3 separate regions of the Homo sapiens genome follow, and all the other regions are linked to region 2. Evidence: promoter capture Hi-C in 16 types of primary human blood cells and fetal thymus (Javierre and others, 2016). All regions are on one chromosome and are shown on one strand. The core of a region is centred on a gene start or on the middle of the fragment in contact, and the rest is flanking DNA. Distances in the headings are between cores, read along the strand shown.

Region 1 (3,458 bases), core at 302-2,801, 250 kb before region 2:
ATGAGGGTTGTTAATTGGGAAAAAATAATGTTTAAAGCCAGATTCAAAACTTCCCAGAGAAGTCTGGAAATACAAATTATCTATAACTACAAGCTAAATAGGGTTTGAGGCAGGATTTCTGCCTAAAAAAGTTTTCTTCACAAGCCGGGAAAGATCTTTAAATAATCATGCCCACAGACTTCAGTGTTTTAGAAGCGGTCTCCATGACTTCCAAGAGCAAGAGGCTGGCAGAGTTGGGTACACCGAGATGTCTCCCCAATATAATCTATGTTATCAAGATCAAGTGCATTAACAAAGTCTCCTAACATGCTCTCCTCCTCCTCCCTCTCTGAAACAGTGGTTACAAACTCAATGCCTACGTGGGTCAGGCAGGCGACATAAATGAGTGAAGCATACTACATATGAGGCAATAGGGAGTGTCAGGGATTTAGAGATCTGGAAAGGGCATTTCCCAGCTAAAGGGAGCCACAGTTCTGCTCCACCCATGAGTGACCATCAGGGATTTCAGGTCCCTTTTTCCAGATGATCTGATATTTCTCAAGAAAAGCTAGCAAATCCCGACTTGTATGTGAAATCGCTTGATTTTAAAATGTTAACGATTCATTTAAAAAGTATTTAAGGCCAGCACAGTGGCTCACACCTGTAATCCCAACACTTTGGGTGGCTGAGGTGGGAGGACTGCTTGAGCCCAGGAGTTTAAGATCAGCCTGGGCAACACAACGAGACCCTATCTCTACAAAAAAAATTATTTAAAAATTAGCTGGGCATGGTGGCACATAACTATAGTCCCAGCTACTCAGGAGGCTAGGTGGGAGATCACCTAAGCCCAGGAGGTCAAGGCTGCAGTGAGCTGTGACTGTGCCACTGCACTCTAGCCTGGGGAACAGAGTGAGACCCTGTCTCCAAAAAAAGTATTTAAGAACATGCTAGGCCAAGCAATGTACTTCATGAGCCAATTTTGGCCGATAGGCCCCTAATCTGCAACTTCTGATTTAAAAAGCTTAACAGGGATGTTAGCCTGAAGCCCCCGGAGTTATATTTCACTCTCAACAGGAAATTCAAGTCTACTGTAGGACTACTGTGAAATCTCTACTTCTTGGGGTCACTGAGTGGTCCACAGTATCCTATAAATTGAAAGCTAGAGGACACAATAGTGTTTCTCTTGCCCTTGAACAAAACCATTCTCCGATAATGTAACAGCCCAAGCTTTGATTTGTAACTATCACACCCACTAGCAGCCCCCATGGGATGAGTGGAAAGGAAAAGTATACCTTAGATGCATATTTTCCATATATTATACCTTTCCTTGGTGACACGAGAAGGAAATACAGTGCTCCGTTGGGCCATTTTCTTTTTAATAATTCACATCTGTTGAAAAAATAAGCACTAAATTATTTAACAGTTTATATCTAGAACTTAACCTCAAAAGCTTATTATTAAGTTGCTAAGTGGATCATAAATTATGTTGAAACACTGATAAGTTATATTATTAAATGTTTTGTATCTTATACATGAAATAAACAGCATATGTTTCCAAATAAGAAGAAAAGCAATCAAGCAAAATCAAAGCTCTTCTGAAATTAATATTGCTAAGCCTTGCAAGACAGACCAACAGGGACTGTACAATGGAGTTTCCTGAAGTTTCCTCACTCCAAATCTGCATCTCAAGCTTGAGAAACCACTTTTAACAGAAACTAGAGTGTTTAATAGGCTTATCCAATCTTATACTTCTCTGTAGAATTTTGCAGGAAACTACCTCAGTAAATTTGATCTCAGAAAACTTTTACTACTAATTCCATGGTAAATGAAGAGCACTTATTTCTAAATTAATCTCAAATAAAACAGCACATGATCAATGTGATCTGATTTGTGGGAAGATATCTATCCACCAAGGGAGTGAGAAAGATATTCCTCATTAGAACTTGAAAACTTTATAATAAGATACAATCATTCATATTTCATCTTGCATATAAGGAACATTTGGTCCCCACAACTCATTAGAAATGTGAAAAACACTAGAGGATGTTTAAAATACTTTATTATTTAGGTTCCTCAATACTGCTATCAATTGCCTTAAAATAATGAATGCCTACTAACTATGATCTGATTCCATAATTAATTCTCATTTAGATGCTGGATTCAGAAAGCATTTCTGATTGAAATCACTGTTTTGGCGTCATCTCTCTAGTGTTTTATTTTTGGAGTTTCAAAATGTGCACATTTCATTTTCTTAGACAAAGAACTTTAAACAAATTACATTTAAGGAAAAAAAAGTCATTCATGCCAAACAAGCTATGGTGCCCAAAGAGTTCTTCAGTGTCAAAGAGAAGCATTTCTGCCATATAGACTACAGTAGCCCTCCCTCATCTGTCAGGGGTACATTCCAAGACCCCCAGTGGATGCCTGAAACCGAAGCCTATATATACTATTCTTTTCTACACATACATACTCATGATTAAGTTTAATTCATAAATTAGGCACAGTGCTCTTGCACTTTGGGGCTATTATGAAGTAAAATAAGGGTTACTTGGTCACAAGCACTGCAATACCCCAACAGTCAATCTGATAACAGAGATGGCTATTAAGTGACTCACAGGGCCAGGTATACATGGTGTGGATATGCTGGACAAGAGGATGATTCCCGTTCTGGGCAGGAGGGAGCAGGATCGCACAAGATTTCATCACACTATTTCAGAACAACACACAATTTAAAACTTATGAATTGTTTATTTCTAGAATTTTTTATTTAATATTTTTGACCATGGTTGACCTTGGATAATGTGGAAAGTGAAACCATCGATAAGGGGGGACTACCGTAAATAAAATCAGGCCAGTGTGGGAAATGCTGTTATTTAGAATCATAGAATCTTTACAGTTTTAAAGTTGTAAGACATCTCAGTTGAGATATTAATCTACAGAATAGCCTAACTTAAGAAACATGTATTTGGCATCTATTAGGTAATTAAGTAACCTAACTAGGAAAAACTAAAATCCCTTCCCTCAGCAGAAGTCATCTAAACCAACCAGAAAACAATGGGTTGTGGCTCATGCCTGTAATCCCAGCACTTTGGGAGGCCAAAGTTGGAGGATTGCTTGAGCCCAGGAGTTCAAGCCCAGAATTTCGAGGCCAGCTGGGCAACATGGCGAAATCCCATCTCTACAAAAAATACAAAAATTAGCCAGGCGTATTGATGCACACCTGTAGTCCAAGCTACTCTGGAGGCTACTCAGGAGGATCACCTGAGCCCAGGGAGGCTGAGGCTACAGTGAGCCATGATAGCGCCACTGCACTCCAGCCTGGGCAATAGAGGAGACTCTGTCTCAAATACAAACAAACAAAAACAATGGGTTAAGTGGCTAACCCTGTGAAAAAAAGCACATGGGGAGGGAAAACAGGAGAGGGGTCGATTTTTCCTGGGTAGCAGCTAGGTCAGGAAGAACTGATGAGAATGAGTAGG
Region 2 (3,324 bases), core at 224-2,723:
GCAAGTGCTGCTACATCAGAGGTACCAAAAATACTTAGGAATTGTAAATAAGTATCGTCCAGCACGTGGATGCTCAATAAAAGAGCTGGAGGACTAAATAAATAGGAAAATCACTCTACCTACTTTCCTGTTTCCATCTTTTAGGAATTCAAGTTTATTCAAAATTTCGTTATATAATCCTGTATCTATGATCTCTTCAATAATTTCGGAATGGTAGTTTTAGGCAACTTTAAAGCTTAAGCTTATTCTGAATTTCCCAGAGTGTTTTTGCACTTTTTTTCAGATGGGCCTCTTCTTCAGGGGTCAGCTTTATCTTTATAAGGTTGGTAATACCGTTCTCTCCCAGGATACAAGGAATACTGAGGAATACTTCTTCATCTATTCCATAGAGGCCCTTAATTATGGTGGAAACTGGATGTATTCTCCTAAGATTCTTCAAAATACTTTCTGTTAAATCGGCCACAGATAGGCCAATGGCCCAAGAAGTATAACCTTTCATTTTAATAATCTCATAGGCAGTTGCAGTCACTTCTTTGTGGACATTTTTCCATTGCTCAGGATCTTTATCAGTTCCTATATCAGAGTTCAGATCCTTCAAAGGGACACCAGCTATGTTCACTCCACTCCACACAGGAACACTTGAGTCTCCATGCTCTCCGAGGATCCATCCATGGCAGCTTTCAGAATGGATACCAAGCTTTTGTCCAATCAAGAAACGAAAACGAGCAGTATCCAGATTACAGCCGCTTCCAATAATACGGTTTTTGGGAAATGCACTCAACTTCCAAGCTACATAAGTTAAGATATCCACTGGATTGGAAACAATAATCAGTTTGCAGTGGGGGCTGTACTGGACAATACTGGAAATCATTAACTTGAAGATGGCCACATTTCGCTGGACTAAATTAAGGCGCGTTTCTCCCTTTTCTTGGCGTGCACCTGCTGTGATAATCACTAGGTTGGAGTTTGCTGTGACAAAGTAATCTTTGCTACAAACAATATTTGGCATTTTCGTGAAAGGGCTGCCATGTTGAAGATCCATCGTCTCACCCTTCAGTTTGTCTTCATCAAGATCCACAAGGGCAAGTTCATCACTCAAGCCTTTTAATAAGATGCTGATAGCGCAGGCCATGCCCACCGATCCAGTTCCTATGATGGAGACCTTACTGTGATGAACGGGCTTCTCGGAAGTGAAACGCTCAATAAGCTCACTCTTCACAGTCGCCATCTTGCTCACGGGGGTGAAGAGCCAGGTGCCGTTGAGCGGGATGCGCGTTGCTTGACGCGGACACAGGGCCATCCCCAGGCATAGGAAATTCGCTCCCACCGAGCTCACTCTCTGGCTGGCCCGCACAACAGGCACAGTCCAACTCATGGCTGCTCACTGAAGAAGTGGAGAGAGAGAATGGAAAAAAGCTGCTGATCCGAACGTTGAGACGCCAAGAGAGCCGTTGGCAGGACCTTCAGCACTCTACGGCAGGTGCGCGTGCCCCGCCCCCTGGCCCTCTACTGCGGCTGCGCGGGCCTTGCCAGAGTCTCCGACACGTGCTTTCCGTGGGTGCTCAGACTAAGGCAGTGAAGGGCTGCTTCTCTAGCAAGTGATTTCTGGAGTTAGTTTTGCTAAGAGTATTATCAATAGTTGACATGCTTAAGAGGCTAACCGAGATCCCTGGAATTACTAGTTTTTTATTTTTAATATGAATGCTGAGGAAACATGCTTCTGTTAACTACAGATGAAAATAAGGTTACGTTTTCTGAACCGTGACCCTGCCAGGAAGGATAGGGCTCTATGCTTTGCGTACTGGTGGCTGCCTGCACCATCTCCCAGTGTCCCAGAATTGGGCGCCTGCTTTCTGGTCTATGGCGCTGGAGGCCTATTTTGAAAGGATTCCACTGCCTTGGTGCCAGTCCTGGCCAGGACCCACCCTGGGACAGTCGGCTGGGGCTTCAGCAGGGTAGGGGCCGGCTGGGAGTCACTCCAGCACTAAATCTCAGCATACTACTGCATATTTTTGGAAAATGAATCACCCTGCTACATGTATTAGCTGCTGAATAAATGGATTTTCGTCTTGCCTCTTGCTGGAATCACAGACTGGCATTCCTTGTCTCCCCATGCCTACTGGTAGTATAAATCAAGGCCCAGAGTGCACTTTTGGTGTTCTTATAAAGCCCATCAGTATTGGGTGCCTACTGGATGCCAGGCTGTGTGGGGCTGCTGATGATAAAAAAGTTAAGTTGAGGTCGTGGTCTTGGGGACTTCCTAGTGCTATGGAAATCCCCTGGTCTCATCCATCATCCCAGCTGATCTCTTGTTAAACAGAGTATCTGAGCATGAGTTTCTGGCCAGATTGGTGCAACTTTGATACCACTTCTGGGAGAAACTGCAAAGCCTCAGATGACATGGCTCATTGCAGTGAATTACTGAGCATGAGGGGCTTCACTTTTGCTCTGGCTTAGCTAAAATTTAGGAAAAGTATTGAGTATGTCACTTAGACACCCCTATGGATCCACTGAAGAAGGGGTATGGGGACTTGAGAGCTGGAGTTCTGATTACGGATCAGCTGGGCCATCCAGGCAGCCAGATACTCATCAGCATCTGCAGGCCTTCCCCACTAAGTCAGCTAACAAGTAAGACGTGCACAGCCTTCCTGTGACAGTGCACAATGAAATCCCAAATGCAACATCTGGAAATCCACATGTTGTGGTGAGGGTAGCCATGACAGCTTTGGTTTTTTGTTTGGTGAAATTAGATTTTTTGTTCAATAAATGATTTTGTTCAATTAATTACATTTTGTTCAATGAAATTCGATTTCTTTCCATTCTTGGCCAGGTATCCTATGACATGGATGGCTTTTGTGAAAGGAACCGGGATGTGCTTTTTATGGATCTCATCGAGCTTATGCAGAGCAGCGAGCTGTAAGTATGTTTTGCCATAGCTGACAGGGGATATAGGTTTGATGAAATTTTCAATATGAAAACAAACTTATGAGCTGGGTGTGGTGGTGTGTTCCTATAGTCCCAGCTACTCAGGAGGCTAAGGCAGGAGGATCACTTGATCCTAGGAGTTTGAGGCTGCACTGAGCTGTGATCACTCCTGTCAATAGCCACTGCCCTCCAGCCAGGCAACATAGGAACACTGTGTCTCTAATAAAGAAAAAAACAAAAACAAAACAAAACACCTGTGATGTTTAGTGGTTAGCATTTTGTTCCTTCATGCTATTGGGTCTGGATTATCATTTAATCTATTTGGTTTCTCAAAATAGCTTTCTTTTCTCTATATCAGTCTCTCCCTTTTATGTCCCTAACACTTCATGCCCCCAAATT
Region 3 (3,461 bases), core at 596-3,095, 230 kb before region 2:
AGACGAAATAAAGAAGGACAAAGAGAGGAAGAGAAAGATGCTTGGGGGCCTTGAGGAAGGTAAAGTGGGAATTTATCTGGTGAAATTAGAGCCAACGTAAATTTTCAATGGAACCTGTCCAAAGGTCTTTGTGACTTCCTCCTAGATAATGTGGCAGGCTGGGAGAAGAATAAGCAGGCAAGCGGGGGTGATTTTGGATTGAGGACTGAAATATAAGAAGCCCAACACATTGAAACAAAGGATTCTGGGATCCCAGACAGAATGGAAATGGCCAGCAACTTACATGCCCCAAGTGGAGAAACAGAGTCACAGAGGGGCTGAAGGATTGGAACAGCAAGTGCTTAAGGGACCAGGGTCCTCAGCGATGGTTAAAATCCAGAGCAGTATGTGGGTAGTATCAGCTAAGTAGGCTGAAGTCCGAGTTCAAGATCTCAAAGGTTTAGTCTTGTTCAAGACTGAACAAGTCCAAGATGTTAGTTGAAGCAAAGTGGAAACTGAGGCTACTGGGATAGATGTTGAGGAACTTCAAGGTCAAAGAATTAAGAGAGCTTCAACACAAAACCCAAAGTCACTGGCAAGAGACAAAGCAGAGAAGAGAATGAAGCTGGCTGCTCACGTTTTTTGTTTGTTTATCCCTTTTTTGGGGCATCAAGTGAAGAGATCCCCACTGTACCTGGGTGTACATCAGAATTGCCCAGAGAGTTCTGTTCCTTCTCTTCATCGTCTCCTGCTGCTCCTCCTTTTGGGGTTTGTTTTTAAAGTAGGGATTTTTAGGTCTTACTCCCCCACCCTGCCCCAGCCCCCAATGATTCTAATTTGGTATATCTGAGAGAGTCTAAAGACCAAGTTTTTCAAAATGTCCCAGGTGATTCTGAGGAGCCCCCAGGTTTGGGAAGCACTGGACCAGAAGATAAGAAGGAGGGTAGGGGCACAAGCAGATAGCACTACCTTCCGAGAGGAGACTTGGTTGGTGATGGTGCATTGGTTTGGAGGCAGCACTAAGGAGAAGCGGAAGAGCATCCCTACTCTGGTGAGACGGTGGAGGACACTAGAGAAGGCTCTTCTGCGGCAAGTTGTTCACTCAGGCTCTGGTGCTCGGGAGAGAAGGTGGGTTCAGCTACATAAAAAATGAAAATGCAAGAGTGTGGCTGCAGGATACAAGAAACAAGACATTTAAAGCCAGGTCGGAGTGACACAGCCTAGTGGCCTGCAGAGAGAGGAGGCTGAATAATGCGCTAATAACGTTTCCAAGCACCATGTAGTGTGGCTCATTAAATGGTTGGTAGGGCTTCATGGTTGAATTCCTGGACACTAAGTATTTTTCTATCCGTATGCTATCAGATTTCTAACATGTAACACATTAAAGGTTATTAAGCCCTCAGGTAAACAAGCTTGCAGAAGCTTATTCATTAGCATTGGAAACTGTGTCTTCCCAACCCACGTTCTTATACAGATGAAATCAGATTCGAATGAAAATCAAGGGTAGCTTTAAGTAGAAAGTCAGAAGGGGCAACCAGGGGTACCTGTGAGAGGGTACGTCCTCCATTCCCCTCCGTGGAAGAGGGAAGTTTATAGACAGTGGATATGGAAGGGGGCCTAAGTGTCCTTTTTAGTACCAGTCAACGCTAAAAATATTATAAGTGCCAAGGAACCCGCCCCCCCCAACACACACACACACACATACACACACGCGCATTCAGTGACAGGGCCCAGAAGGCAGATACAATGTGCAAATCTGGGGATGGTTCTCAATAAAGAATATATTTACTCTACAAACCTCTTATTTTAAAAGCAAGTTGCAAATGTTTGCCCTTGCTTCTGAGAGAGCTGCACTTTTGTGGATTCGAATCATTCTAGCATTATTTCTGGTTACTCCTATGAAATAATTTCCAACACTGCCGTACGCAGACTTTGAGCTGAGGACGAGAGCGCACGCGCACACACGCACACACACACACGCGCGCACACACACACATAAACCTCGTGCACATTGAAGAAATGACTCACTTAATTTGCTGCTGCCTGCCACGATTGGGTTTTGATTTTACCTGTTCAAATACAAAGTTTCCTATTAGATTAACTACAGGAAAGAAGAACTTAGGAGCATTAATCCTGATTTTGTTCATGTCTTTAGGGCACCAAAGAGGTTTTAACCTGTGCATCTTAAGAAGCCATTCTCCGGACCACCGACTGCTTGCTCCATAATCTTCCAGACAACGATAACATTTCTTACCACTTTAGGAGCCAATTAATGGAAACCCCTCCTAGAATAAACATGGTTAAGCTTTGCATCTCCGGTACCTGCAGAACCGTACTTTAGGGCTCTTTCTCAGCTCGCAGTAGGATGGCACAACAGCATTCTGGAACTGCAAAGACCCCCTAGCCTCTCGTTTGAAAGATGAGAAAAAGCGAAGGGGCGGAAGAGCAGATGGTTAACCTACCCAAGGTCACTCACTCTGAGTAGTGGGTCGGCTGACTCGCCTTTACCCCTGGCAATCCGTGCACCACCCCAGCTCCCCCAAACAGTCCCTCCGGGCGTCGGTTGGTTCGCTAGCATGCAGCCCCCGCGAAAATGCAACGCCAGTTGCGCTCTGTGCCCAACTTCAGCCCTTCGCGTCACATGCAGTTAACCCTCTCGCCCGCGGCATGTCACATGGGCCACGCGCAGCTCTCTCTACCCCACGCCTATCTCCTGAGAGGCTGCCCCAAGGTCACCGGCCGTCCCAGAGAGCTCCCGCCGCCCAGCCCCAGAGGCCGCCCGGCCGGGGTTCCCAGAGCGCGGCACTCACCGGCGCGGGGGGTGGGCGCGCCGCGGCTGCCCATGTCCTCGCCGGCGCGGCTGGGTGCGGCGGCCGCTGGCGCTGGCTGAGCAGGGCGCCCGGCTGCGGGCCCGCGCCGCGGGGAGCGCCGTCCAATCAGCGCGCGCCTGCCGCCTGGCCCGGCGCGCGGCCCGGCCGGGTTCGCGGCTCCCGGGGGGCGCGAGCCGCCGCGCGCCGCCGGAGCCGCTTCCGGGCGCGTTGCCTGGACGCGGTTGCCGTGGCAGCCCGAGCTGGAGGCTTTCCCCGCGCACCCGCGCCCAGCCTGGCGGCGCCGCCCCTCCTCCCTCCTCGTTCCCACACCCAAAATAGCCTCTGCTCGTCGCTGCTGTTTCCCACAGAGCTCGCATCCAAGCGCCTTGGAGTTGGCGGGCGGGGATTTCGCTCATTGGAAAATAAATCCTGTTGTAGGGATGGTTGATTTGGAGAGGTGTTGAAATGGTGCCTGACGGAGATCATAGCCATGGTGGTGGCACTGCAATTCTCTCTAGAGCCCCAATATACCTTATTTACTAAACCGCTTTCCCACAAAAATAGTTCTCTCCCCCGCCCCACCTCAAATTGGGGAGAAGTTATTTGATTAGGCCACGGTGACGCCCCACCTGTGCAGGTGAACGAACCCTCCGGGGCTGCCATGTGTCATTT

The links. Contacts are between HindIII fragments. The CHiCAGO score rates a contact against its expected background, and 5 or more counts as called.
Region 1: a contact is called between a fragment that was not itself captured here and the fragment with the promoter of LDHAL6B in region 2, in 1 of 17 cell types (naive B cells). The highest score is 5.2, in naive B cells.
Region 3: a fragment that was not itself captured here is called in contact with the fragment with the promoter of LDHAL6B in region 2 in 1 of 17 cell types (M0 macrophages); the score reaches 5.2 in M0 macrophages.

Annotation. Positions count from the first base shown.
Region 1 is chr15:59,456,460-59,459,917 of GRCh38, reverse strand. It overlaps FAM81A (family with sequence similarity 81 member A), which reads right to left. Exons shown (of 9, transcript NM_152450.3): 2 at 1,272-1,368. The coding sequence starts at 1,291. Among named protein-coding and RNA genes, the nearest start is that of FAM81A, 20 kb to the right of the region's middle. The HindIII fragment of the contact is 240 bases long and covers 1,432-1,671 here.
Region 2 is chr15:59,204,992-59,208,315 of GRCh38, reverse strand. It overlaps LDHAL6B (lactate dehydrogenase A like 6B), which reads right to left and starts at 1,473. Exons shown (of 1, transcript NM_033195.3): 1 at 1-1,473. The coding sequence starts at 1,375. The coding sequence ends at 230. It overlaps MYO1E (myosin IE), which reads left to right. Exons shown (of 28, transcript NM_004998.4): 15 at 2,831-2,916. The HindIII fragment of the contact is 11,888 bases long and covers 700-3,324 here.
Region 3 is chr15:59,437,611-59,441,071 of GRCh38, reverse strand. It overlaps FAM81A (family with sequence similarity 81 member A), which reads right to left and starts at 2,886. Exons shown (of 9, transcript NM_152450.3): 1 at 2,790-2,886. RefSeq lists a silencer at 2,659-3,188. The HindIII fragment of the contact is 883 bases long and covers 1,404-2,286 here.